Linked DNA regions of Homo sapiens: all the other regions are linked to region 4. The links are contacts of gene promoters, found by promoter capture Hi-C in blood cells and fetal thymus (Javierre and others, 2016). All regions are on one chromosome and are shown on one strand. Each heading gives the region's core, a stretch centred on a gene start or on the middle of the fragment in contact. The rest is flanking DNA. Distances are from core to core; before and after follow the strand shown. Region 1 overlaps CR2 (complement C3d receptor 2). Region 2 overlaps EIF2D (eukaryotic translation initiation factor 2D). Region 3 has its middle 9.0 kb from the start of CR2. Region 4 holds the start of C1orf116 (chromosome 1 open reading frame 116). Region 5 holds the start of CR1 (complement C3b/C4b receptor 1 (Knops blood group)). Region 6 has its middle 8.1 kb from the start of EIF2D. Region 7 overlaps CR1 (complement C3b/C4b receptor 1 (Knops blood group)).

Region 1 (4,166 bases), core at 908-3,407, 430 kb before region 4:
ATTTCTTGTAATTGTGGAATTCAAATTCAGATTTATATTTCAGCAGCAACATAAACCAAACCAAAAGAGAAGGAATGAATAATTTACAGTAGGTCCCTATTTTCAAAGGCATTTATTTGAAATGTGATGGCTCAGAAGATGACTTGGGGAAATAGTGGATAACTTCAAAACATGTTTACAGAGACCACAGAGAGCAGGATATCACCTGTGCTAGACTGTGTTAGCAGCTACTTATACATTAATTTCAAATCCATTGGGTGTATTTTTGCTATAAGATCCCACCGTTCTTCTCATTTTAACAGTAACACAGATATACAGTTGAAAACCACCCCATTCCCACATCCCCAACAAACTCTGACCCCATCCTTGCAAAACTTACCCTACTCAATTATTAGGTGTGTTTAATTACATTTTTCCATGTACTTTAAACTCCTTTGCTCAATTGATGTTTTTTGAACGAGCAGTTATATGCCTCCACGAAGAAGCCATAACTTTCACCTTTTCCCTTGTTTCCTTCTTCCACCCTCATCATTACATGTTCACACTGTTTGTCCTTCAGGAGGGTACAAAACGTGGTCTGCACAGAAAGGCAAGACCCCAACCTCCCAACCCAGCTTTCTTTTCATACTCACCACTTACACAGGTTGGTAGTCGTGTCGGCCCCCACATATTATTTGCTTGACACCAAACAGACTTGTTTCCGTTCATGGAGAAGTTGGTTTTACAGGCAAATGTCACAGAATCACCATGTCTGTAGGGTGTAGAGCCTCTAATTTTGTATCCTCCTGGTACTATGGGCTCAGGGCAAGAAGAATATTTATTGAAATATTCACATTTAGGAGCAGGTTTATCCCAGGTTCCATCCACTTTGTCTTTAGTTATGCATAATAGACTTTTTTCTCCAATGAGGCGGAAGGTACCTGAACAACTGTACCTTATCACGGTACCAACAGCAATGGGGGTAGAATAATAACTAATCCGGCCATTTAGGATAGGCGGAGGAGAGCCACAAGAAATCCCTGAAAAGTAGAAAAGGAACTTGGTAGGCATACTGATCATGGTGAGAAAATATTCAAATGTAGGTAAAATATCCAAATATAGATCACATAACTTTTTCAGAAACAGACTTAGAAATATGTATAGTTTATTTATTCCCTGCTTACTCCCAAACTCCTAAATTCTTACCTTTTTCTTGATCCTCAGCAAACAGATCAACATAAATCATCTTGACCAAACAATAATAATGAAAAGAATATATCCAAAAGTTCTGAGTCTAATCAATTTTAATAATGAAACAAAAGGCAAATTCAGCACATGAAAATAACATATTAGTGGCATGATAGTTACATGTGGGGAGGTACCATGGATTAGGGAAATTTGAGCTCAGTGGACCTAGTTTCAACTCCCCACGGTCATTCAATAGCTGTGTGACCTCAGGCAAGTCTTACTCTCTTTAAGCTTCAGTTTCTTAGTCTATAGTATAACGCAAACTACTTCATAAGGTATAGTGAGAATCCAGTGCTAAAAGTACATGAACAGAGAAAGTACAATACCTGGAACATACTAATTATTCAATGGCTGCTTCAAACACACAACTGGGGGTACAGGCTGAGATGACCACTTTTGGTCCTGCTGCTGAAGATGCTAGAGCCTCAGTACAGGTGATTTGTCCTGACTTGAGGCTGGAACACTTTGAAAAAGCCACAGGAAGTGAACAGAGGTTTTGAATAATGGCCTCATATTCTTCATTTACTTGTCCTAATAACCATGAAGGATATTGTTTACATTTACTTTGTTATGCACGCCTTTTCTGAGGGAGTCTCAGAATAAAGGGAAAATTGCCAACCTCTAGAACTTTCAGTTAACTTCCCTTTGGCTCCAAGAGGAGGTCTTCAGTGAAAACTGACATAAGAAGATACAGCCAAACTGTTTCATCACATCAGTGCTATACTTGGTTTCAGTAAGGGTAACTTTCGAGAACTGTTGTCTTTATACATATAGAATCTGCAGTATAATATATACTCAACTGAATCAATTTAACATCTTTGGTCTGCATTCCAGAAGACAGAGAAGAGTGGCATATATATGTTCAAAGCACACCTATGGATAAGATGTGATAATTATATATATATATATGTATGAAAAAATCTCTAATCATTGACTTTGGTGCTATCTGCTTTTTTAAAAAAGCATCTTTTAATTTCCCCTACAATAACACAGATCTAGCACTGCCCCAAAATACAAAAGAAGAAAAAGTCCTACATCTGCAACATTTAGATATTACTTTCAAAGTTTACTTTTAAACTCTTTAACTAGGCAGGGTGTGGTGGTTCACGTCTGTAATCCCAGCACTTTGGGAGGCTGAGGCAGGTGGATCACCTGAGGTCAGGAGTTCAAGACCAGCCTGGTCAACATGGTGAAACCCCATCTCTACAAAAATACAAAAATTAGCCAGGCATGATGTTGGATGCCTGTAATCCCAGCTACTCGGGAGGCTGAGACAGGAGAATCGCTTGAACCCAGGAGGTGGAGGTTGCAGTGAGCCAAGATCACGCCATTGCACTCCAGCCTGGGCGACTGAGCGAGACTCCATCTCAAAAAAACAAAAACAGAAACACAAAACAAACAATAACAATAAAAAACTCTTTAACTAGAAAACTCAACCACATATACTATCTTCCTTCTGCTCTTTCCATAGGTACCATATATCTATTTCCCAGAAAAACCTTGTTTTATTTCTAGATCCTGAAGTTTCAGCCCAACTCACCCCTGAAGCACTTTGGCAGTAGAGGATTCTGTTTGCTGTTTAGTTGACACCATATTACATTGCTGCCTTTCAGGGTAAAACCAAGCTTACACTTAAATATCATGTATCATTTTAAAAAAATGAACATAATCCAGATTCCACAACTCCATTTTCAACTTCTATAATTGAGCATTCAAGTAAGAGTAATACACTGAAGAGGAGGGTTGCTCCAGAGCTCCAGACATCAACTTGATTATCTTTGCTGGTGCAATGCATTGACTTCTCATCCAAGAGGTCAAACAGCTTTTCCCTATTACATCCAATATGGCACTGATGATTTCATAGCAAACCCCTCTCCCTGCTGCTGCTGTCAAAGTCCCATGGGGGATGGCTGGGAGTGACTTACAAGGAATACCTTTTTAAGGAGTAGGTGGGGAAAGAGAGAATATTATACTTTCTGAGAATTTTCTCTTCATTCTTGCAATCCAAACTGCAACTCAGCCTACAATTTACCTATTTTGTTGAAATTCTGTATCCTGATCTCAAAGATGATTCTAAATAGGAAGTAGCAAGGTCAAAAGATATATGGAACTGGCTGATAAAAACCGAAAAGCTATGAGCTGGTCACCAGTCCCCGCCCCAGACCACAGATAAATTGTTATAGAAGGGACCTAGGGTGGCTTACTTTTTGCATGGAATAAAGTTGGCAGTGTGTAATCTCCTGGAATGTTTTAGATGTAAGCATTTACTCACTATGAAATAACTTATAATCAAAGGACAGTAAACAAAGGAACGTGTGGTAGGATTGGGGGCCATGAGGAAGATGGGTAAGTCATAGCTGTGTGCCTAGAGCTACTCAAACCAAGTGTAAACCCTCCTGGCTACTCACTTTGGTGTGCAGATGCTCAATTTCCCTCTGGAAGGGGACAAGAGGAATTAAATAGGGTGCAATAAAGAGATTGTTTTACTTACATTCATTAAAAGGCATGTCATTATCCCAGGTTACAATATTGTCTGAGATAATACATGTAGCAGATGAGTCACCAAAGAGTAGATATCTAAAGACAAAGAGATAAGAAATCTCGCGGCACACGTTTACCCTGTAACAAAACTGCACATCCTGCACATGTACCCCAGAACTTAAAATAAAAATAAAAATAAAGAGTGATCATCTCCCAGCTAGACTTACATTTTAGAAAAACTTAGTTCTTTCTCTACTGAAAGAATAGCAGAGAATAGAATATCATTTATGACAAGCAGGGGTGACAGATTAAGGACTCATACAATTTAAAGCCAAATGAAATTCAAGCTCCTGGTCAGTAGCACTGGAGACTTAAAACTGGAAGAGAGCAGCCAAAACTTCCTTCTCTTCTAGGGATCCTCTCTAGCTGGTAATCTTGAAGCAGTGTCTCTGGAGTGG
Region 2 (4,156 bases), core at 304-2,803, 430 kb after region 4:
TCTTGGGATGTCTATTAATAGTATTATTCTTTTGGGATAGGGAGGAGACAAGATTTATTCTCCCCATTTCAGAGATGAAGAAACTGAGGCATGGAACTTTTAGGGGCCCAGAATTGAAAGTACGCTTGAGATGAGGGCACAGGCTCTCTGCCCCCTCCTGGCCACTCCTGCCTGTTGGCTCTCTGCTGTCTCTGACCTCACTGCTGACTCCTCTGTGGCCAGGGCTGGAGAGTATTGGAGCTGCTGCTTGATGTTTCTGACATGAGATTTTTCCAGGCGGTCTGGAAACAAGTCCTCTCCACCTTCCATTGCTCCACTGGCCCTGGATTCAGCAGATCTCAGTGAAGAGAAGGGGTCTGTCCAGATGGACTCCACCCTGCAGGGAGACATGAGGCACATGACCCTGGAGGGGGAAGAGGAGAATGGGGAGGTTCACCAGGCACGTGAAGACAAGTCTCTCTCAGAAGCCCCAGAAGACACCAGCACCAGGGGCCTGAACCAAGACTCCACAGATAGCAAAACGCTTCAAGGTATAACTCTAGGAGGAGAAGAGCCCATCTCCCCACCTCTCAATTTAGGAGCCTGACGAACTCCACTCCACTGCTGACTAGAATGGCCCTTAAGCTTCCGGGGGAGGAGGGGAAGGTCCTTATTTTCTGTGAGGGTGGCGCAGCAGCCCTTTCACATCTTGTTTTTGAATCCTTTCCACATAAGTCACGTCTTCCTGGGAGCTAATCTGCCCTGGCATTTGCCTGTCTTCAGCTACAAAGCCCTCCAAGGTTTCTTCTGGCTCAACTTCTCTGGGTGAACACTCCTAGCTTGGTGGGACTTTGTGGCTTGACTCCTTCTCTGGGGTCAACCCTCTTTAAAGGCTCAGTGCTCAAGAGAGGCTGGGAGCTTTGGTACCTGGGAATGGGTTCCTTTCAGAGCCAAGTGGGTGAGGTAGGGATGAAGCTGGGGGTCGTTTTCTTGTACCAGGTGTTCTGTATCCCTCAGGAAGGATGTGGCTCTTGTCTTTTCCCTGCAGAACAAATGGATGAGCTGTTACAGCAATGCTTCTTACATGCCTTGAAGTGCCGAGTCAAAAAGGCTGACCTCCCTTTACTCACCAGCACTTTCCTTGGCAGCCACATGTTCTCCTGCTGGTATGGAAAGCACTGATGTGGGCTGGAGGCCGGGGCCGGGGTCTCACGTGTGCTCCTTGGTAGTAGGACAGGATGGGGCCAATGCAGGGACTGGTTGAGGGACATGCTGTGGAAAGAGTGGAGGGAAGGCTTATCTGACAAATACATTAGTTCCTGGGTTCTAAAAAGTTAATTCTTAGCTTGCTGGGCTGTTAAAACAAAATCTTAAATTTTAGCCAATGAAAGGATATTGAGGACCGGAAAGTTAAAATTCCTGAGATTCTGTGAACACTGCCTCTGCCGTGGGGGTTCTGGGCAACCTCACAAATCGGGCAGCGTGTCCTCTGCAGGAAGTGTCCCAGGGCAGCCTCTTTGTCAGGAATCTTCTTCTGGAACATTCAACCTCCTCACACTTCTGAAAAGTATGTGGGGGGCCACATTAGGTTTTATTAGGAGGAAGAATTGGTGTGAACACCCCCCGTCCCGGCCCACCCCATCCAAAACACAAGCCATCAGGAGTGGTATTATTGCGTGTGGATAGAACCTGGATTTTGAAGACAGAGCTGTCTGTACTCAACTGCTAGGTCTCCAGGGTGTTCAAGCAATGTGCATTTTAGCTTGTTACTGGGCTTCTCTGAGTCCTAATTTCTAATAATCATGGGATTGCTGTAAAGATTACATAGCCTGAACCATAATAAGCATTCAGTAAATACTATCATGTCAGGAGGTTTGCTTATTGATTTTTACCCTGAGATTGAATTTATTTATTTATTTATTTTTTGTTTTGAGACACAGTTTCACTCTGTCACCCAGGCTGGAGTACAGTGGCGTGATCTCGGCTCACTGCAACCCCTGCCTCCCAGGTTCAAGAGATTCTCCTGCCTCAGCCTTCCCGAGTAGCTGGGATTACAGGCACATGCCACCATGTGCAGCTAATTTTTGTATTTTTAGTAAAGATGGGGTATCACCATGTTGCCCAGGCTGGTTTTGAACTCCTAACCTCAAGTGATCCGCCTGCCTCGGCCTCCCGTAGTGCTGGGATTACAGGCGTGAGCCACTGTGTCCGGCCTGAATTTATTTCTTTTTGAGAATCTGGCTGTGGTTTTTTAAAAAAGTGATTCTTAATGTAATGTCTTCCCATTTATACTTGGGTGTCTTTAAGCTATCCTGTACAAATGTGGTGTCTGGAGTGTGTGGAGGGATACTTGGTAATCTGTTCTGACTTTCTTGGGTTGCAAATATATGGTAAAGGGGCCCCAGAATATTCTGTAGGATAGGATTCTGGGGTGGATTCTAGAAGGACTCCTCGAGAATCCACTGCTATTGCGTGTCATGTTTTGAGAGAAGATGTAAGCTTTTATCAGGAATGTTCTCTCCAAAACTAATTGCTGTAGTGCAGGGGTCAGCATGTTTTTCTGTAAAGGGCCAGATAGTAAATATGAATATTTTCAGTTTTGCAGGCCACACCATCTCTGTTGCAACTGCTCGATGCTGCCATTGTAGCACTAATGTGACCATAGACAGTAGATAATTAGTTGGCCAGACCTGACCCCAGGATGCGGCTTGCTGGGCCCCACTCCAGGCCTGGCTGCCCACAGTGTGAGTTTGCTGTTGCAACTTTGGAGGCCACAGAAGGTTGTCTGGTCTGGGAGGAATCTAAGGCTGTATCCAATGTGGTAGCCACTGGCCACATGTCGCTATTTTCAGTTTAAATTAATTTAAAGTAAATAAAATTTAAAATTCAGTTCCCTTGGTCACATTAGTCACACTTCAAGTACTTACTACCCACATGTGGCTAATGGCTGCCCTGTTAGACAACACAGAGAACATTCCACGTCTATGGAAAGTTCTCTTGAACAGCACTGATTTAGAATGTCCCATAGTCTGCATCCCTCTCTGCTGTCATCCCTGGGCAGAGAGTTCTGGCACAGTGGCCTCTCTCTGAAGGTGGGGGAGGAAGGCTGAGGAAAAAGGCCCTCCTCTCAGTGTCAGGCAGGTCCCAGTATGACTGCTCATTAGTTTAATTTGCCTTTTCCATCTGCCATCAGCCCCGAAGGACGACAACTGGACATAAAGAAGTCAAGCTACAAAAAGGTAAGCAAGGATCTTCTTTGCAGACCCATGCAGAGAGTTGTGTAGGGGCACATATGACATAAGCCAGATGGATGCTGGGGAAGCCTTGTCTACCAGGCTCAGTCTAGAATTAAGCTTTTTGACTCCAAGTATAAGGGGGAAGAAAGAAACTCTCCCTGGGCTGAAGCAGTTGGTGGCACCCACTTTCCTTTCTCCTTTGACCCCTTTATATCTGATTAGAGTTCTGAACGGCCTCACTGGTTAGTCTCTAGCAGCTTCTTGCTCCCTGGCCCTCAGGTTGGGGGCCTCCCAGTTCCTGGTTGATGAAGGCAGGGGCTGTCTCATATCCCTGCACAGTCCCTGCCTAGCTCACTCTGGCACATCCTGGGTGCTCAGTATGTGTGTGGAATCAATGAAGTCCCCTACCACTGGCCCTCTCTCCCTTAGCTCTCTAAGTTCCTGCAGCAAATGCAGCAGGAGCAGATTATACAGGTGAAGGAGCTGAGCAAAGGGGTGGAGAGCATTGTGGCTGTGGACTGGAAACACCCGAGGTGAGTGCAGGGGGCCTGTCACTGTAGCCCAGCTGGCCCCAGGGCACCTGGGCCACGGACTGGGGATTGCTGAGATGCTAGTATAAAATGTGTTTTTTCTTTCCTTCTGCTGGGTTTTAGGATTACATCTTTCGTCATACCCGAGCCCTCCCCGACCTCCCAGACTATCCAGGAGGGTAGCAGGGAACAGCCCTATCACCCTCCAGATATAAAACCCCTCTACTGTGTCCCAGCCAGCATGACCCTGCTCTTCCAGGAGTCTGGCCACAAGTGAGTTTTTGGAGAGCAGCCCTTCTCTGCCTGCTTGGTGTTCTGGCCTACAGTTCCTCTCAACCTGAGTAGTGCTCTTTTGCGACTGGCAAAACCTGCTCTGCCCCTGTTCTCCCCTTCTCCAAAATCCAGCTTCCA
Region 3 (3,986 bases), core at 51-2,550, 410 kb before region 4:
AATCAGATAATAAAAAGTGCTGATGAGGATGTAGTGAAACTGGAACCCTTGTACACTGCTGGCAGGAATATCAAATGGTGCAGGTACTTTGGAAAGCAATCTGGTAGTTTCTCAAATGATTAAACCCAGCAATTCCTCTCCTAGGTAAATACCCAATAGAAATGAAAGCATATGTTCACACAAAAACTTGTACATGAATGTTCATAGCAGCATTATTCATAACAGTCAAAAGGTAGAGATGACTCAAATGTCAATCAACGGATTGATGGATAAACAAAGTGTGTACATCCACATAACGGAAAAAACCATAAGATGGAATGATGTACTGATATGTTACAACTTGGATGAGGCATGAAAACATTATGCTAACTGGAGGAAGCCAATAACAAAAGTCCACACATTATATGATTCCATTCACGTGAAAGTCTGCAACAGGAAAATCTATAGAGACAGGAAATAGATCAGTGATTGCTTAGCAGCGGAGGGGAGTATAAAGGGAGGATGGATAATAGGGAGTGGATAGAGGATGACACTAAAAGAGTATTCTTCAGGTGATGAAAATGTTCTAAAATGGACTCTAGTAATGACTAAATGTATTTGTAAATATACTAAAAGTCATTGAATTGCATACTTTAAATGGATGAATTGCATGGTATATGAATTATGGTTTAATAAAACTGTATTTAAAAAACCCTAAAGATAAAGAAAACTTGAAAATCAGTAATGGAAAAAGATATGTTATGTAAACAGTAGTAAAAGATATATGTAATTATATCAATTGTTGACAAAAGAAAATTTAAGAACAGTTCACTTAGATGATATAATAATTTTAAGTTTTTCTACATATAATAGTGTATCTTCAAAACATTTAAGACAAATTCAACAGAACTACAAGAAGAAACAGACAAATTTACAATGCAAATTTAAATTCACAGATACATTTTATCTGTTGATAATTGATAGAATAAGTTGATAAAATTAGCAAATAAATTGAAAATTTATACATGATTAACTTGCAAGGCATAGGGAACTTATAGAACACTGCGCCTGATAAATGCAGAAGACATCCTTTTTCAGATACAGAAAGCTAATGTACAAAAATTGATTGCAAGCTAGATCATAGGGCAAGTCTCGAAAAACTTCAAAGATTGAAATCATGTGGAATATGTTCTCTGATCTCTACGCCATTGAGCTAGAAATTAATAATCAATAAATACTTTTTAAAAACTGTATGTTTGAAAATTAAGATAGACATGTCTAACTTATACATAGGGCAGAAAAAAATCATAATAGAAACGAACATATATTAGTGTGTTTTTCAAACTGAGCCATAGGAGAAAAAAACATTAAAATTTATGGGATACAGCTAATGCGGGTTTTAGAAAGAGATATTAGATATATTGTCTTAAGAGGTCAGAAAAAAAAATCCGAAGAAAGGAGATAGTAAAATTAAAACAAAAAATCAGTGACATCAAAAACAGGAGCCAAGTTGGGTTCTTAAAAAATCTAATTAATTTGTCAAATGACCAGTGAGAATGATCAAGAATAAACAGAGGGACAAAAATAAAAGTAATGATGAATATTAGAAAGGTATAAGGGGCCATTACTGCAGATAGATCAAGAAGAGAGGGTATGTTTGCTGTCAACAGCAACCAGAATGCACCAACCAGAAGTCCTTAGCAAAATGTTTCCCAATCTATGATTTATCCTAAGATAGTATCTGTTTCCATGATCAGCTTTGGAACTTCCTAGCTTCTGCTGAATTATAAAGGAGATTGATATCAAGCCATTCTAAACCATCTCTAGTCCTCCTGCCTTACAGCAGAATTCTATTTATGCACAAGTTACCCTTAGACCATAGGTTGTGGATGAGATCCTTGCTCCAGCACAAAGCAATTGCCATTGTGTAAATGGGGCTACCACATCTGCAAGTTGTGGTTCTCAGTGTTGATGAGCTATTGTCTGAACCTCCTGGGGTATTGCCAAGAACACATAGCAAGTGTAGGGGCATGGTAGAGACCATGCAGGTGGCTGCAAGAGAAGAGAATCACTCTCCATGAGACTTAATTTTTCCCAATTCAAGTATTTTAAAAATCAGTTATGGTTTCCTGTCATGACACTAATATGGAGTTTTAAAACAGTTGCAATGTTTTGCAATCTAATAAACTTACATTACTTAGAGTTTGGGTATCTTGAATACAACATAAAAGTCATATGTAAAAAAACAAAATGAATCCTAGAGATTTCCTGGAAAAAAATCTGGCCAGTTATCCAAAAAGAAGAGGAACTGCTTCCTTTAGGGGGTTTCCGCACTGGCCTGGGGTGTGTGGGATGTTGGGCCCTCAAAATAGTGAAAGAAGTTCATTTAGGAGTCAAATAAGAAGGAATATTCTTTCCCCTTTGCAAAGCAGAATTAATGTAGTATCAGAATGAGTAGAATCAGTGTCTAGATTCCGGCTAAGATAATTCTTTCCCCTTCCAAACCACTTGACTATCTTCGCTGAAAACCAGCACCTTCTACAGTAAGCAGTAAGCTGCCTCGGAATACTTCTGTCACATAATGCTAATCAATGAGCAGTCCACAAAAATGGTCAAACATCTGTGTGACCTGGTCATGTTGCTAGTCGTGATAATGGTGTGGGGTGGTCTGGAGGATGGGGGACAGGGACATTTGCAGGGACTTTCCAAACTGCCTAATGCTTTGCAGGCATTTCATCACCATTTCTGTTTTCATTCCTTCCAGTCAAAGCAGAAAGAGATTTTCCTGCCATTTGGACCTGTCTTCCTGCAAAACTCATGGATTTGCATATCATATTTTACTGTATTTTACTTATTTCAGATTTTGTGTTTATGAGGTACTGAAACAAAGGCTTGACCCCTCACAGTTTTAAGGGATGCAGAATACCCTTTGGGAACAGAGATGGATTGCTGTCATCGGGTCATCCTATGTCTGCCTCCAGAGGTGGCCGTGATACTGAAGAACAGTGAGGGGCCAGTAAGTAGTGGAAGAGGGTGTCCTTTCACACTCCTTCCAGAATTCCCTACCTTTTCTTAATAGCCCTTTTGTTTACCTTGGAGTTTATCCAAATCTTCATTTAAACAAATATCTTTGGCTTCAAGAAGACACAGGATTGGTCATGTCTCATCATCTTTATTTCTACTTCTCCCTGACATGTGGAGAAGTCCTATAGTTGATCTTCTTTACCGAGACTTCAGTTTAAAAAGAACTTTAATAAACTAATTTACTTTAGTGATGTAACTTAATATAATTTAGTGATGACACAAAACTAAATCTGAAACATTTAGAATAGTATTTTATTAAAAATAAATTACTTTCCCTTCCCTAATTTATCAGCAATCAAGTTTTTAAAAACTTTTTCACTGAAGATTGAGAAAAGACACTGCCAAGATATACAGATAATTGGTAGTTAATTGAAATATACATACAAGTTTACCAAGTGAAATTTTACAATTTTACAAAGTAAAATTTTATTTTTTTAATTAAATTAATTTTTTTAGAAATGGGATCTTGCTATGTTGTTCAGACTGGCCTCAAACTCATGCCATCATGCCCAGCCTAAAGTAAGAACTTGCAGAAGCATTTTTAAAACGCAAGAGTACTTGGTATTCTGATAGGAAGCAAAATGATTTTCATATGTTGGAGTTCAATTTGAATATTAAGAGGCATTAGAAAGCCTTATTCTCAATACTGGAAATACGACAGTGTAATCAAGTGAAGTACTTTTGAATTTCTTCAGAATTAATAAGCTGTAAAGTTACTTATTAATATGTGACAACACAACTAACCAAGCTAAAAATAGAATTTCTCTGTTACAGGAGTAACAATATACATTAAAAGTTGATAAACTTATTAAAGCAAGTTTAACACATTGGGAAAGGCTCCAAATGAGTATATTCACTTTAGCTTACATGATTTGAAGACGAAAAAAAAAGCCTCTAAACTTAAAAGCAATAAAAACAACAGC
Region 4 (3,589 bases), core at 690-3,189:
AAAAGAAAAAGTTTTTGAGAGGAAAGGGAGGAAGGGAAAGATGATTTTTGTCTATGTCCCTGCTTCTACCTGGTAAAAGATAGGGGTTCCTCCTAGTTATCCTAATTTTATTATAACTGAAAAACTGTGTCTGTTCACAAATAAGACTGTTGCCTACTATCCTCTTGGAAGTTAATTCTCATAAGTCAATTCATTTTTTTAGCAAATGTTCAAATCACACACCTATGGAGCTGGATCAACTTCATTGACTTCATCCATGGGTGTGACTCTGGTTGCACTGAACTGCTGATTTGGAGATGCCCTTCCTGTTTTGTTAGTATTATGACATCATATATGTTTGAATGACACACCAGGGAAAGAGGTCATAGCCCGAAGTGCTCATTCAGCTGTGATATCCATAGGCTGCTGATAGGGTACTGGGTTATCCCAGGCTTCCTCCAACCTCCTTCCTATCCATTAGTCCTGCTCCACTTCATCTTTACCTTGGCCCCAGGATCACTGCCCTTTTTATTTCCTATCCAACCATGATCACAGAAAGAGAAAAGATGAAAGCCATGTGTCGTCTTGTTATAAAACATATTAATAGCTTTAAGTAGGAAATGAAACAGAAAAGGACGAATCTAATAGCTAGAATTACACTTGCAAATTATCTGTGTATTTCATGATTCCCACTTGAGATTCCTTCCAAAATAGAGGCGGATTGGCATTATGCTGATTCATAGCAACCTTGATGTTATACTGCCTGAATTAAAATCTCTGCCCTGCCTCTTCCTAGCTACATGGCCTTGAAAAAGATTTTTAACCTCCCTGTAAAATTTAGATATTAACAAATGCCTACTTTTTTAAGTTAAAGACTAAATTAAAAGATACATGAAAATGCTCAGCACAATACCTAGCAAATAGCAAGAGCTTAATACATTTTGGCAATTATTGTGTACATTGATTTTAAATTTTCTCCCTGACCTTTTAATGCTAGTAAGTGGAATACCTCAAATCCTGATACCTATCAAGGATAATCTACCTGTAGGAAAAACCAGCTTCCAGGCAAAAATCATATCTGTTAAGAGTGGTCTCTGTACCTGGTGGGAAATTTCTTCCCAAAAATAGTAGATTCTTCTACCTACTCTCTTCTCCCTACGAATGCCAAGTATCAGTCCATGAAAGGAGACAAGAGTTGCTAAACTGGTTGGTAGTTTGTTTTGTTTTTATTTCATAATATGTATTGCCACCTTCCATGAACAGCCAAAAGAGAGCAGAGGACCAAATGACAGAGTGCATGCTCTCTCCTTTCAAGCTGTCCAGTCACTCTTTCATCAGGACACGGACCTCTTAGGGGATGAATGGTTTTATTTCCCCCAGAAATAAATTAGGCCAAGGAGATTGTTGGCAAGCACTGGGGCGAGACTGGCCCAACTACAGCATCCCTAGCCTGGGGACACCTTCTTCAGTGGACATGAATGGAATTGCTAGGCTTATGAGCTAGGATTAGGCTTGGGGAAGAAAGTGACTTTCAACATCTAGAAAAGCTAGCAGCAAAACTGAACACAAATGAGTTTAGCCTAGAGAATTCAGGGGAAAACTAAGCTCCAAGCGGAAGAAGGTAGTTCTAGATGAAAAACCTGTTTCACATAGACCTATGGAAAAGCACACTGCCCAGAGGACTGTCTGCGTTCCTTTATATCAACATTAAATATATATACTATCTCTGCCTACTCCCTCCCTGCCACCTGTCCTTCCAGTCTCAGCCCAAACCGGCTCCTCCTCCTTCCAGCCCTCCTTTTTTAAAGAGCTCTTTATTAGCTCTAAACAGGAAAGGGGAGGGTAGGAGATGATTGGCTAAGAGGGAACAGCACCACCCTGCTCATTCCCCTCCCATTCCCTCCCTGAGGAAACAGCTGGAATGAGAGGTAGGGAGGGGAGGCTAGGATTGGCTGAGTCAGTGGCAGGGTGGGGGCCAGGCAGCACAGATGAAGCATTTACCTATCTAGGTAAGTCAGGAGGAGCTCAAAAGGAGAAGAAAACAGTAGGAGGCAGGGGAAGCAGCCTCTGTCTCCATCTCTGCCCTTTGAAACAAAAGGGTATTTCTTTTCTCTCTTCAGCCCCCAACCCAGTGGAGGTGAGTTAATCACTAACCAACTATTGCTTATCCTATAGCAATAGGAAGGGGTTTCATGGGAAATCAGAGCTACAGGGGAGGGGAGGTGTCCCTCTATACCCCAGCTAGGGAGATTTCCTCTCTGTTCCTCAATTCTCTGAGTCCATTCTGGGATCAGATCAGGTTGGTAGCAACTTGAGATTGTAGTGTTTTTGTGGAGACTGGGGCTGGGAGGCACCTTCTTTTTCATTTATCCCTTTAGGTTGGATAGGCATATTGTGCAAACAACAAGAAAAAGAAAATAGATTTGTTTTGGAAATTTCCATCTCTGAACAATTGAAATTGAGTTGTGATTTTAGAAAAGAACAGTTGAAATAGAGGGAGTCAAAATGGGGGAGAGTATCTTGGTTTTCCATAGCGACTGTAACAGGAAATTCTCCCGTGGCTTTACCAACTCGGTGTCGATCTTTATTTAAATAATGGGTGCAATGTGTGTGTGTGTTTGATCATGCTCATGTGATAATGGAGCTCTCTGTGTACAGGTGTGTTAGGCATGAGCTGTACTAGGTTGTTTGTAAAGGGATATGAGGTTGGGGCACATGGAGAAAACTTCAGCTACCAGCTCATCTTTGGAAAACCCATGGATAATCTAGCTGCAAAGTCAAGTTTATTTGGATTCTACTCAATTAACTTTCTGACTCAGCCTGTTAATAGACACAGAGACTGGCAAACAGAAAGCTACCTGGCTGTGCCGAGCCTCACCCACATGAATATTTCGTGGCTGCATGTCAAGTCTAGTTAGAGTTCCAAGTGGGGCTCAAGCCAAGGTAGTGTGGCAGAGTCCACAGACAGAGAAGCAGACCAGGGTGGTGGCTTTGTTTGTTTTCCTGCAGGTGTCCCAGTTGGCAGTTTGTGTGGCAGATTTACCTGCAGAAGGAAGGCAGATGTAGGAGTCGAGTCAGAGTAGCAAGTTGCCTCTCCATTATCCATCTTGGGGGGTTTAACCCTTTGGTCCCTAACTTTGACTCTTTTCCTCCTGCTGCAGAGAAGAGGGAAGTGGGAAGCCCTCAGTGCCAGGCTCAAGGGCCTGGCACACGCAGCCCTGAGTGAATATATGGGTTTTCCAGTCCTGGCAACTGGAGATTTAGGCTTGAGCTCACCTCACACCACAGAGCCAACACCCCACACTCACAGACTGAGGGCTGCCCTAGATGGTGAATTTAGGAATAAAGACCACTGGCAGTGTCTAACAAAGCTCTGCTATGCAGAGGGTATTTCTACCTGCTCCTTCCCTCAAACACACTGGTGAAAGGGAAGATGATAATGTTGCCTAAACACACACAGAAACTTGCCCATGTGTTCATGGAGACAGATATGCAAACTGTGCAAGTTTTAGTCATTCTGCTATTTTTCTTAGGATATTTTCCAGCCCAAGGCACATTTCTGGGTAGTCAACAAGAAGCAAAGACACCTGGATTGAAAGACAGGAAACCT
Region 5 (3,754 bases), core at 658-3,157, 460 kb before region 4:
AGCTGGTAAGTAGCAGAGGCTGGAAAAAGCAGAACGCTGGCTTCCTAATAAGTAGATTTCATAAAACTCCACCACCTACTTCTATATGCATACACTTTGGGTGCAGAGCTCTTATACTTCTTTAAAATTCCAAAGGACCGTGCACACTGGAAGCATCCATCAGCATTTTAAAATTTAAATTATGTCAGCAACAAAATTTCTAGGTAGTTTAGTTTAGGCTGTTTCACATTTGGAAGTTATTGTGATAACCTCAGTAAATTTTTTTTTTGCAATTAATAGTGTCTGGGATTGTTTATAACAGTAACTTAATCAACATAGGCTAAGTAAAACAACATTCTAGTAAGAAGAGGGCCAGTACTCCCAAAGATGACACAAATTCCTAAGCGTTGACAACAGATTGCTTAACTTACTGGGCATGCTTCTCTCCTAAAAATAAGATTGTACGTTTTATCACATCTCTGCACCTGACAGGTTACTTTCTGGTGCCTAAGGAGATCAAATATTAATAACAACTCTTGCGGGACTTGGTTCTACTTTATTTTATTTTATTTACTCTTTTAGAGAAGAAGGAACACTCAAATAATGAATGTAAAATGTCTAGTGGCAGAGAAGGGCGAACCCGGAGTTGTCAGGAATAGGCTGGACAAAAACAACCAAGACTGTCACTTCAAATGAGATGTTGCCAGTGAGTCTAGGCAACCAAGAAGACTTCTGGGGAGCCGAAAAATAATAATAGAAGGGTTCTAACTGAAGATGTTTACCTATTTGAAGTTAAGAAAAAGGAAGAGATGTGGCCTCAAAATTTCCATAATAATTATAATAGGCGTTATTTTGTACTAAACACATCACTAAAATGCGAACTGTAAACATATCTACTGTCCCTTCTACCTGCAACGGTTACATTGCATGTTCTGGGGCTTCCCTTGCTCTTCTAATCCGCAAGTGCCTGGCATGCATCTGTCTTAAAGTATGCTGTCAATTAAGTGCATGGTGATGATGGCCGTGGTGGCTTGGTGTGGGGGGCGAGGACAGTTCCATGCGGGGCAGTTGTCAGGTAACACCTGCATCCCTAGGACTGCTTGTCTAAACACCATTGGGAGCAAAGTACAGAGGTAACGGTTGGGGGATAGAAATGGACTCGGGGACACATAGCCCTGTGTTAGATACTCGACAGGCTTAATGCCACTGAGGCAGCAACTCCACGATGCAGAGATACCAGTGTCCCCATTTTACAGAAGAGCAAACAGACTCAGGTGTGCTAAGTTGCCTCACAGTTAAGTTTCTAGGACCAGAACTCAGGTTTGTCGGATCCCCAAGTTCCCTTTCACTAGGATCAACGCCACGTCTTGGCTATAGCCAGCCGAGGCTGTGAATACACAAAGGCAAGGAATTTCGTGCGGCACCCGCTCAGCATCTGCGCCTTCCACTGCGCTCGTCACGACTTAAGCCCCTGCACCTGGGAACTCCACGCTTACCCAGAAGCAGCGAGGGTCTCCAGTGCGCAGAAGGATCCTACACCCGCCGCCCTGCCGGGTCGCGCGCTCAGCCCACCCATCGCGCTGCCTTCGGACCCGGGCGCGCAGAGCAGCGCAGCTCAGCGCTGCACGCGAGTTCTCTGCGGGGCCCCGGGTTCCTCGTCCGCCCGGGCGCCTCCCCACGCCCGCCCGCCTCTCACCCCAGGCCACCGGCAGCGCAAGCAGCACCACAACCGCCAGCAGGGATCCTCCGCAGCAGAAGGGGAGACCGGGCGCCGGCGGCCCGACAGGCTCCGGGCTTCTTGGAGAAGAGGCCCCCATTCTCCCCAAGCACATCTACAAACCAGATTTGATCTCGAAGAAAACTGAAATAAGAGGAAAAGCTCAGCGAAAATAGGAGTGACCAATCATTGTGCTCCGCGCCCAGAGTGTGGGGAGGGCTGCGGGGTTCCGGGACAAAATGCTTTTGACCACAGCTTCCCCTTCATGGGCGAGGTCATGTTTACTCCCCATTTGCATTGTTTCTAACGAGTTTCGCTGGCAGAGCCCACCTTGCTGACCCAGGTGCAGCAGCAGAGCTTGACAATGCTCGGGCTTCCGATGGATCCCGCGTGTGAGGCCCTGCGCTTCCAGACAAAGGCGGTGGATGATGGCAGCTCGCCTCCAAACACCCTGCTTAACTTTTCCTCTTTGCAAGAATGTGTGTGGGAAGGTCAGCTAATGAAATGCCTGCTCTCCGTGTTGAAGGGCAATTGCAGGCGATGTGTACGGTGTACAGGGAATGTGAAGAAACAATTTCCTTACCCTGAATTGAGACGTCATGCCATTGTAAGATTTTTTAAAAGGGAGGGACAATTAGATACACATTTAAAAAATGTAAATCTGTGTATAGTATGGAAGGTAGATTAGAATAGGGCAATAATGGACTGCGAAGACCAGTCAGGGGAGCTTTTGCCGACATCCAAGTGAGGTTTGATGGCGGCCCTGACTGGGTGGATAAAGTGGACAATTAACAAAGATATTGGAGATGGAATGAACAGTTGCTCATGTATTGGATTTTGGTTACTTCCTTTCTTAAGGTTGGTGGTGAGAAGAAAGCAATCAAGAGTTAGCCCCCTTGCGGTAGTTTGCTGAGAATGATGGTTTCCAGCTTCCACAATGAGAACACATGGACACAGGAAGAGGAACATCACACACCGGGGCCTGTTGTGGGGTGGGGGGAGGGGGGAGGGATAGCATTAGGAGATATACCTAATGTAAAGGACGAGTTAATGGGTGCAGCACACCAACGTCGCACATGTATGCATATGTAACAAACCTGCACGTTGTGCACATGTACCCTAAAACTTAAAGTATAATAAAAAAAAGAAACAAAAAAAAGAAAAAAGAAAGAAATAATTAAATAATTAAGTTTAAAAAAGGTAGAAAAAATAATATTTTATCTTTTTTATTGGGGGTGGCCTGTCCTTCTGACATGTACTGCCTGCCTGTAGGTAGGCTATTTTGCCTGGGTTTTTCTCTTAAAATAATTTTGACTTTAAACCTTGATTTTGTTGTTGTTGTTGTTGTTGTTGCTAATTTTATGTTAAACTTGTTTTCCTTAACCATTAAAAGGAGACATGATTCAGAAAAGAAAAAAAAAAAAGAGTTAGCCCCAGGATTAGAAATGAATGGTGGTGCTACTTACTGAAATAAGAAGTATGGATGTAGGACTGACAGATTTAGGGCAGAGGGTTAAGTATTCAAGGATGAATGTATTCCTCCTATCTATCTGTGATCCTGTGCCCTTTAACCAATCTCTCTCCATCTCCCATTGTCTCTCCCTTCCCCAGCCTCTGGTAACCAGTATTCTACCCTCTACTTCTATGAGATGAGTTTTTTAGAGTCCACATATGACTAATAACATACAGCATTTGTCTTTCTGTGCGCATTGGTTTCCATTAGGCTTCCTCCCAAAATTCTAGTGGAAGAAATGTCTACTTTGATCATATCACTTATCACAGTTTTTAGTACATCCAGTGACATTCTTTTAAGGATTTGCTATCATCATTTCAAGTTATTCTCAACAGAGTAATGGGAGTAGCAGCCAGATTGTAGTAGGCTTAGGAAAAGAGAAGAGGAGAAGGCTCATTTCCCCAGTTTTACATCACATGCTATCAGAAGGTGCCACTCCTTACCACTTCTGCTGGTATCCATCTCCTAGTATCTACTTTCTCCCTCATTCCTTGAAAGTTTGAGCTCCTGGCTCATGGCCACCTTCTCCACTGTTACTTCTGCCA
Region 6 (4,146 bases), core at 312-2,811, 410 kb after region 4:
CAGGGTTTCTTTTGAGGGTGATGAAAATGTTCTAAAATGTTGATTGTGGTGATGGTTGTGCAACTTTGTGAATATTCTAAGAGCTACTGAATTGTCCACTTTAAATGGGTGAGTTGTAGGGCAATGAACTATATCTCAATAAAGCTATTATTGAAACAAGCACAGGGCCAGGTACAGTGGCTCACCCTGTTACCCCAGCACTTTGGGAGGCCAAGGCGGGTGGATTACTTGAGGTCAGGAGTTTGAGACCAGCCTGGCCAACACGGCCAAACCGTGTCTCTACTAAAAATACAAAAATTAGCCGGTTGTGGTGGCGAGTGCCTGTAATCCCTGCTACTTGGGAGGCTGAGGCAGGAGAATCACTTGAACCTGGAAGGCCGAGATTGCAGTAAGCCAAGATCGCACAGCTGTACTCTACCCTAGGCGACAAAGCGAGATTCCATCTCAAAACAAAAACAAAAACAAACAAAAAACAAACAAAAAAAATTCCTTATTTTGTAGATATAGGGTAGTATCTGAGAATTTGTTTTTCTGACAAAATCCTAGCTGATGTCACTGTGGCTCTAGAAACGACATTTTGAGAACCACTGGATTAAGACCCTCTAGGGAAAGACGGACAGGGAAGGAGAATGAGGTGTGGTGGTCAGAGCTGAGTGGGAAGCAGCCCTAGGTGTGGCTCTAGAACTAATAAGATTAGCAATAAGAGCAGTAGGATAATTGTTGTCCACCCACCTCTCTCCTCCATGTTCATTTTTTCAGCGAGGCCCCAAGGAATACATTTTTTTTTTTTTAACAGACATGCGCTACCATGCCCAGCTAATTTTTGTATTTTTAGTAGAGACAGAAGTTTTGCCATGTTGGCCAGGCTGGTCTAGAACTCCTGACCTCAGGTGATCCTCCTACCTCGGCCTCCCAAAGTGCTGGAATTACAGGTGTGAGTCTCCGCACCCAGCACCCAAGGAATACTTCTAAAAGATACTTTAGAAGATTATGGTCTGACCTCAAAGTTTAGAGAAAGAAAATGCTACTTTTCCCACAATGACCCACGAAAGCTTTGTTATCCATGACTTTACCTAAAAGTTTTCAGAATATTTTTATTTTTTATCCTGGGTCTCTACTTTTGGCTTGCAGGTTGTTCTGCTGTAAATGAAGGGTGGGATTAGGGTAGCATTGGCAACAAACAGCCTAGGCATCACCACTTTCCCTTCTGGGGCTGAGAAGACACCATGCCCTTTAATTACAGCCTTCTTTTCTCAGCTCCTCAGATTTGGCTTCAGAATCCTCAGCATGGCTCCCTAGTCAGCTGGTACCAACCTGGGAGAGTTGACATGGCACATAAAGCTTATTTGCCATCCTGGGATTAGAAGCTCTTGAGGAACCTTTGAGCTCTAATGTGGGATTCAAGTCCACACGCGTTTGTGAAGCAACTATGACCAAGCACTGTGGCTGACATGTGGGTGAAAACAGAACGAGTCTCGGGATTCCAGATTAAATGAAATAGGAGCACACTTTAAATTGCCACAATGGTAACCTTTTTTAAGGTTTAAGGATCTTGAACCTGGGAATAATGCATAACAGCTACACATCTGTATACAGCAATAACAAATGATTCCCTGATTTCAGAGCCTCTTCCACTCTTATTGGCCATGTATTCTCAAAAGTTTTTCTTTCTTGTCTCCCAATGCAAGTGAACAAGGGGAATTGACTAGAAAGCCAGAATCCATCATTATGGTTGGAAGCCTTTCTGTTTCCCCCCTTACCTCAGGACTTGGAGAAGCTTAACGTGGGAAAATTGCTCAGAACCTCCAACCGATCACTATCATGATGATCCTTTATAGTGTTCTATTTCATGTGCTGCAGACTTTGGACACTGGTTGTATGATTTTGCTTGTTTTTCCTCTGCTTTAAGCAGCTGAGTACTCTATATTAAGGCCTAAGCAATCAATATAATAATAGCTACCCTTTGAGTGTTTACTATTTGCTAGACCCTGTGCTAAGAGTTTGATGCATATTATTCCATTTAATCCTCACTACGATGAAGTTAGACAGTTTTGTTTTGTTTGAAACAGGGCCTCACTCTGTTGCCCAGGCTGGAGTGTGGTGTCGCTATGTCAGCTCACTACAGCCTCAACCTCCTGGGCTCAAGCAATTATCCTGCCTCAGCTTCCCGAGTAGCTGGGACTACAGGTTCATGTCATCACACTCAGCTAATTTTTTGGTATATTTTTAGAGACAGGGTTTCACCATGTTGCCCAGGCTAGCCTGGAACTCCTGAGCTCAAATGATCCTCTTGCCTTGGCCTCCCAAAGTGCCGAGGTTACAGGTAGGTGTGAGCCACCATGCCCGGCCAGGCAGTTTTATCCATTAATATTTTACAAAAAACTGAGGCTCAGAGAGATTATATAACTTGGTCAAGCTGATTGTTAAATATTCAAGAATTTTGTAAGCTGCGGTTTGTTAAACCTAACTTGAAATAGGCCATGGTAGGAGTATTTACAATGCAGAAATGGGTAAGCACTCTAAGTCAGAGTTCCCCTTTCCCCCATTCAATTCACCAGCAAAGGACTGGTTAACCCGAAAGCACAGTGACACTATCCTTTTTTGTTAGATCTTTGTCCTGTATATATGACATTTGAAATTTGAATTGTTTCTAGGGTTTGGCAATTATGAAAAAGCCTCTGATCATCATTTATGTCCAGATTTGTATGAACACAAGTTTTCTCCCTTTTTTTTTTTTTATTATTTTTTTTTTGAGACGGAGTCTTGCTCTGTCGGCCAGGCTGGAGTACAGTGGCGCCATCTCAGCTCACTGCAAGCTCCGCCTCCCGGGTTCCCGCCATTCTCCTGCCTCAGCCTCCTGAGTAGCTGGGACTACAGGTGCCTGCCACCACACCCTGCTAATTTTTTCTATTTTTAGTTGAGACGAGGTTTCACCTTGTTAGCCAGGATGGTCTCGATCTCCTGACCTCGTGATCCACCTGCCTCAGCCTCCCAAAGTGCTGGGATTATAGGTGTGAGCCACCGCGCCCGGCCTTTTTTTTTTTTCTTTTTTTGAGACAAGGTCTCACTCTGTCACCCAGGTTGGAGTGCAGTGGTGGGATCTCGGCTCACTTCAACCTCTGCCTCCTGAGCTCAAGCGATCCTCCCACCTCAGCCACCCCCTTACCCCTTCCTTGGCTAATTTTTTGTTAGTTTTTTAGAGACAGGGTTTCACCATTTTGCCCAGGCTGGTCTTGAACTCCTGGGTTCAAGCGATCCACTCACCTTGGCCTCCCAAAATGCTAGGATTACAGGTACAAGCCATGGCACCTGGCCGTTTTCCAAAGTTATTTATCATTTTGCATTCCCACCAGCAATGCCTAAGAGTTCCAGTTGCTCCACATCCTTGCCACAACTTAACATTGTCAATTTTTTTTTTTTTTTTTGAAACGGAGTCTCACTGTCACCCAGGCTGGAGTGCAATGGCACGATCTTGGCTCACTACAACCTCTGCCTCCTGGGTTCAAGGGATTCTTCTGCCTCAGCCTCCCGAGTAGCTGGGATTACAGGCACCCGCCACCACACCCTGCTTTTTTTGTTGTTTTTTTAATATATATATATTTTTAGTAGAGACAGGGTTTCCCATGTTGGCCAGGCTGGTCTCAAACTCCTGACCTCAAGTGATCTGCCCATCTCAGCCTCTCAAAGTGCTGAGATTATAGGCATGAGCCACCATGCCTGGCCTTTGGTTTTGTTTCAACCATTCTAATAAATGTGTATGATATTTCATTGTGTTTAATTTGCATTTTCCTAATGATTAATGATGTTGATAATCTTTTCATGTGCCTAATTGTCATTCATCTAGTTTCTTTGGTGAAGTTCCTGTTCAAATCTTTTGTCCAATTTTTATTGGGTTGTTTCCTTATTATTAAGTTTTGACAGGTTTTTATATATTACAGATATAAATCTTTTTACCCAGTCCATGGCTAATCTTTTCATTTTCTTAACATGTCATATATATATATACACACACATATGTGTATATAAATACATATATATACATATATACACATATGTCATATATATACACATACACACACACATATATGTCATATATATACACACACACTTATATACACACACTTTTTTTTTTTTAAAGATGGGGTC
Region 7 (4,130 bases), core at 1,272-3,771, 480 kb before region 4:
ATTATTAAAAGAAATTAAAGAAGACTTCAAAATGGGAGGATATATCATATTCATAAATTTAAACTTCAAAACTGTAAATTTGTTACTTGTCCACAAATTGATCTACTGAGTCAACAGAAACTTAATACAAATTCAAGTAGGATTCTTTATGTGGAAATTGACAAGCTGATTCTAAATTTTATATGGTAATGCAAAGGGCCAAGAATCACCAAGTAAATCTTGAAGATGCACATAGTTAGGAGATATATGCTACCAGATATCAAATCTTAATGTAATGCTATAGTAATTAAAATCTTAATGTAGTGCTTATAGTATGGCAAATAAACCAGTGAAACAGAACCTCTCTGGAATGAGATCCACTCATAAGGTCACCTGACTTATGGTCATGGTGGTGTCGCATTGCACTATGCAAGGAATAGTCTTTTTAATAGATGATATTAGATCTATTGCCCATCCATAAGAAACAGGGCTTTGTCACCTAGGCTGGAGTGCAGTGGCACCATCATAACTCACTGAAGCCTTGAACCTCTGTGCTCAAGGGATCCTCCCACCTCAGCCTCCCAAGTAGCTGGGACTACAGGCATGTGCCACTGAGCCCAGCTAATTTTATATATTTATTTTTTTTGTAGAGACAGGGTCTCACTCTGCTGCCCAGGCTGGTCTTGAACTCCTGGCTTCAAGCAATCCTCCTGCCTTGGCCTTCCAAAATGCTGGGATTATAGACATGAGCCACCTCACTTGGCCCAATTGCTTAAGTAGAATAGAAAAAGCAGTAACTGGAAAAAAGAAGACTCCTAAATTGAATATTATTAAAATGTAGAACTTTCATAAACAAAAGACATCATTAAGAAGGAAAAAAGAAAAGCCACAGCCTGAAAGACAATATTTGTGTTACATTTATTAGAAAACATGAGAATATTTAAAGAACTTCTACAAAACAATAGACAAACTAATAAATAATAGGCAAAAGTTTGGAATAGCACTTCACAAACGTGAAAAGGTACTCAAGATCATCAATGAAATACAACATAATAATAAAGAAGACCCAACAATCCTTCCTGCAAAAACAAAAATGACTCTTCCAAATATAACATTGAGATGAAGCTGGACACAAAAGAGTATCTATTTTTTGATTCCTTTAATATAAAATTTAGGAAGCAACAAAACTATTAGTGTTATAAATCAGAATAGTGGTTTCTTTGGGAAGATAACTGGGAAAGGGCATCGGGAAGGCTTCTGGGGTGCTGATAATGTTCTATATCTTAATCTGAGTGACGTTTACATGGATACATTTACTTTGTAAAACTCCATTGAACTGCATGATTAAGATGTGTGCATATATACACACTATATATATGTGTATATATATATAGTGTGTATATATGTATACATATACCTATATATGTATACGTATACGTATATACCTATATATGTATATGTATATATACGTATATATATGTATATACCTATATATGTATATGTATATATACGTATATATGTATATACCTATATATGTATATGTATATATACGTATACACGTATATATACGTACGTATGTATATATACGTACATATATACACATATACATACACGTATGCATACGTATATACGTATATATACATATATACATATAAGTATATATGTATATATGTGTGTGTGTGTGTGTGTGTGTGTGTGTGTGTATATATATATATATGTTATACTTCAGCCAAAAGTCTACATGGTACAGGAAAATGGTTGGAAAAAAAAAAACTTCCCAAGAACGTAAACTCCAGGCCACATACCTTTTCTGGTGAATTATTTTTAAAGAAGAAATAATGCCAATCTTATATAAACCCTTACAAGGAAACAAATATATGAAACACTACCAGCTGGCTTTATAAGACTGTCATAGCTTTGATATCAAAATCTTATTAAGGACATTACAAGAAAGAAAATTATAGTCTTATCTCTAAAATATGTTAGGAATGGGATGATGAAAGTGTTCTAGAATTAATTGGCGGTGCTGGTTGCCCAATGTCTTAGTCTATTTGGGCTGCTATAACAAAATACTATAAACTGGTTAGCTTGTACACAACAGAAATTTATTTCTTGTAGTTTTGGAGGCTGGGGAGTTCAAGACCAACACTGGCAGATTCAGCATCTCCTCCCATGGTGGGAGGGCCAAAGGAGCTCTTCCGGGCCTCTTTTATTAGGACGCTAATCCCATTCGTGATGGCTCTGCTCTCATGCCCTAATCATCTTTCAAAGGCCTCACTTCCTAATGTCATCACTTTAGGGGTAAGGATTTCAACATATGGATTTGGGGTGGACTCAAACGTTCAGACCATAACACACAACTTTGTGAATATACTAAACACCACTAAATTGTATAATTTAAAAAGGTAACTTTTATGATACATGAATTATATTTTAATAGAAACATCTAAAATATATCATAAAAGCATATTTGCCATATATAAAAATGATTAAATATTATGACTGAGTTGATTTATTTTAAGAATGTAAAATTGAAATTTAAAATCATTTGCCTTTCAAAAATGTACTCAAAACAATTTGTTGCATTAACAGAAAAAGAGAAACAGATATGATTACATCAATATATGTAACTAAAGTGTTTGATAAACTTCAACATGATTCAAAGACATAAATTTTTTAGCAATGAAGAATATATAAGATAATTTCCTTATTTCAAAAATGGTTATCTACCAAAAGCCTACAGTAAACACCAGCTTAATGGTGAAATGTTTTAAACTTTAACTTTGAGATGTGGAACAAGACAAGGATGACATCTATTGCTACCAATGTTCAATGTTATACTGGTGGTCCTAGCCAGCGTGGTAAAGAAGAAAGAAAATAAGGAAAGAGGGAAGGAAGGAAGGAAGGAAGGAAAGAAGGAAGGAAGGAAGGAAGGGAGGGAGGGAGGGAGGGAGGGAGGGAGGAAAGGAGGGAGGGAGGGAAGGAAAGAAAGAAAAGAAGACAAAGAGTTAAATAAAATTATAATTATTTGGTGGTTTGGCACCATGTCAACCAGGCCAATTTGGAATTAAGTTTTCCAGACTTACTTTCTCTGTACGGTTCTGGACTAGGGTTATAGCATGAGAAATTAGCCTGATATTTGAGAGGCAGAAGTTAAGCAACAGCCATTCCACTCTGAAAGTTGTATCCTTGGATAGAGCTGGTGAGGCACAGTGCAGGAGTAGAGGGTTCAGAAGACAGACCTTTTACCAGAGGCTTGAGAAATACATTCACATGGGGAGTTTCAGCATCCTCTGCAACGGTTCATTCTCTGTAGGCCAGGAATGACAATGGGAACTGTTGCCATTGAACTGGATTCTCTGAATTCACTTGGGGACCAAAGGACCTCAGGGTGGCAGAGTCCCAGTGGCAGCACTTAATTGCCAGAGACAATGGGGGTTCTTGTAATGCATATTTGAGCTGAAACAGCAATCAGAATGATTTGATTGAAGAGGACATTGTTATTGGGCTAATTGATCATGGAGTCTCTAAAACCAAAGTAGACGGATAGCCGACTAAAGTGTTACTTGATTTGTATAAGTGTAAGAGTTTTAGGTCAAGTGAATAGAAGTCTGACTTGAATTATTGCAAAAGAAGTTCATTGTTCATCAACAATTCCTAGACTTGAATAGTTTATAGACCCAGAGCAGCACCAACGGATGGGAGACTGGATTCTCTTGAGGAAGCACCATGCTACACAATCAAAAGCATGTATTGTAAATCTTCCCCTAGCCTTTTCCAAGAAGACTTGAGGCCATTTACCAGGATTTGGATACAGAGAGGTTACAGAAGTAGAAACAGAGATAAAAAATAAATACAGGTATAGGTGTATTATTATATTTTTTGTTTTCTCTATTTTACTAATCTTTTTCATATTTCCAGGAAAATTCCTATTCCAATTCCATGTTTATTACAGATTTCAAATAAGATGGAAGGTTTCCCAATTTGTTTTACAAAATAGCAAAACTGTTTCTTAAAGTGGATAAACAGCAATAAATGTGTGACCAATGTCATTTGTAAACTTAGATTCTGAAGCTCTTAAACTTTCTAGTAAAAGTAACATTTTTAAATACCAAGAAGAAAAGTAAAGGAGTCCAGTTATCCAAAGAGAA

What was found. Contacts are between HindIII fragments. The CHiCAGO score rates a contact against its expected background, and 5 or more counts as called.
Region 1: a contact is called between a fragment that was not itself captured here and the fragment with the promoter of C1orf116 in region 4, in 9 of 17 cell types (neutrophils, monocytes, naive CD4 T cells and 6 more). The highest score is 11.1, in neutrophils.
Region 2: a fragment that was not itself captured here is called in contact with the fragment with the promoter of C1orf116 in region 4 in 1 of 17 cell types (naive B cells); the score reaches 5.2 in naive B cells.
Region 3: a contact is called between a fragment that was not itself captured here and the fragment with the promoter of C1orf116 in region 4, in 5 of 17 cell types (neutrophils, monocytes, total CD4 T cells and 2 more). The highest score is 9.4, in neutrophils.
Region 5: a contact is called between the fragment with the promoter of CR1 here and the fragment with the promoter of C1orf116 in region 4, in 17 of 17 cell types (neutrophils, monocytes, total B cells and 14 more). The highest score is 15.2, in neutrophils.
Region 6: a fragment that was not itself captured here is called in contact with the fragment with the promoter of C1orf116 in region 4 in 1 of 17 cell types (naive B cells); the score reaches 5.8 in naive B cells.
Region 7: a contact is called between a fragment that was not itself captured here and the fragment with the promoter of C1orf116 in region 4, in 12 of 17 cell types (neutrophils, naive B cells, monocytes and 9 more). The highest score is 12.1, in neutrophils.

What each region holds. Positions count from the first base shown.
Region 1 is chr1:207,463,379-207,467,544 of GRCh38, reverse strand. It overlaps CR2 (complement C3d receptor 2), which reads right to left. Exons shown (of 20, transcript NM_001006658.3): 2 at 633-1,019. Among named protein-coding and RNA genes, the nearest start is that of CR2, 11 kb to the right of the region's middle. The HindIII fragment of the contact is 1,394 bases long and covers 1,461-2,854 here.
Region 2 is chr1:206,599,325-206,603,480 of GRCh38, reverse strand. EIF2D (eukaryotic translation initiation factor 2D) reads left to right here. Exons shown (of 15, transcript NM_006893.3): 6 at 277-530; 7 at 1,028-1,145; 8 at 3,173-3,218; 9 at 3,645-3,748; 10 at 3,869-4,018. Among named protein-coding and RNA genes, the nearest start is that of EIF2D, 11 kb to the left of the region's middle. RefSeq lists an enhancer at 395-1,594. The HindIII fragment of the contact is 1,854 bases long and covers 627-2,480 here.
Region 3 is chr1:207,443,362-207,447,347 of GRCh38, reverse strand. No RefSeq gene overlaps it. Among named protein-coding and RNA genes, the nearest start is that of CR2, 9.0 kb to the left of the region's middle. The HindIII fragment of the contact is 7,026 bases long and covers 1-3,986 here.
Region 4 is chr1:207,031,106-207,034,694 of GRCh38, reverse strand. C1orf116 (chromosome 1 open reading frame 116) reads left to right here and starts at 1,939. Exons shown (of 4, transcript NM_023938.6): 1 at 1,939-2,116. It also overlaps a transcript of PFKFB2 not described here. The HindIII fragment of the contact is 5,727 bases long and covers 1-3,589 here.
Region 5 is chr1:207,494,310-207,498,063 of GRCh38, reverse strand. It overlaps CR1 (complement C3b/C4b receptor 1 (Knops blood group)), which reads right to left and starts at 1,907. Exons shown (of 47, transcript NM_000651.6): 1 at 1,676-1,907. The coding sequence starts at 1,796. The HindIII fragment of the contact is 13,119 bases long and covers 1-3,754 here.
Region 6 is chr1:206,618,518-206,622,663 of GRCh38, reverse strand. No RefSeq gene overlaps it. Among named protein-coding and RNA genes, the nearest start is that of EIF2D, 8.1 kb to the right of the region's middle. The HindIII fragment of the contact is 436 bases long and covers 1,344-1,779 here.
Region 7 is chr1:207,512,547-207,516,676 of GRCh38, reverse strand. All of the region lies in intron 4 of CR1 (complement C3b/C4b receptor 1 (Knops blood group)), which reads right to left. Among named protein-coding and RNA genes, the nearest start is that of CR1, 18 kb to the right of the region's middle. The HindIII fragment of the contact is 7,541 bases long and covers 1-4,130 here.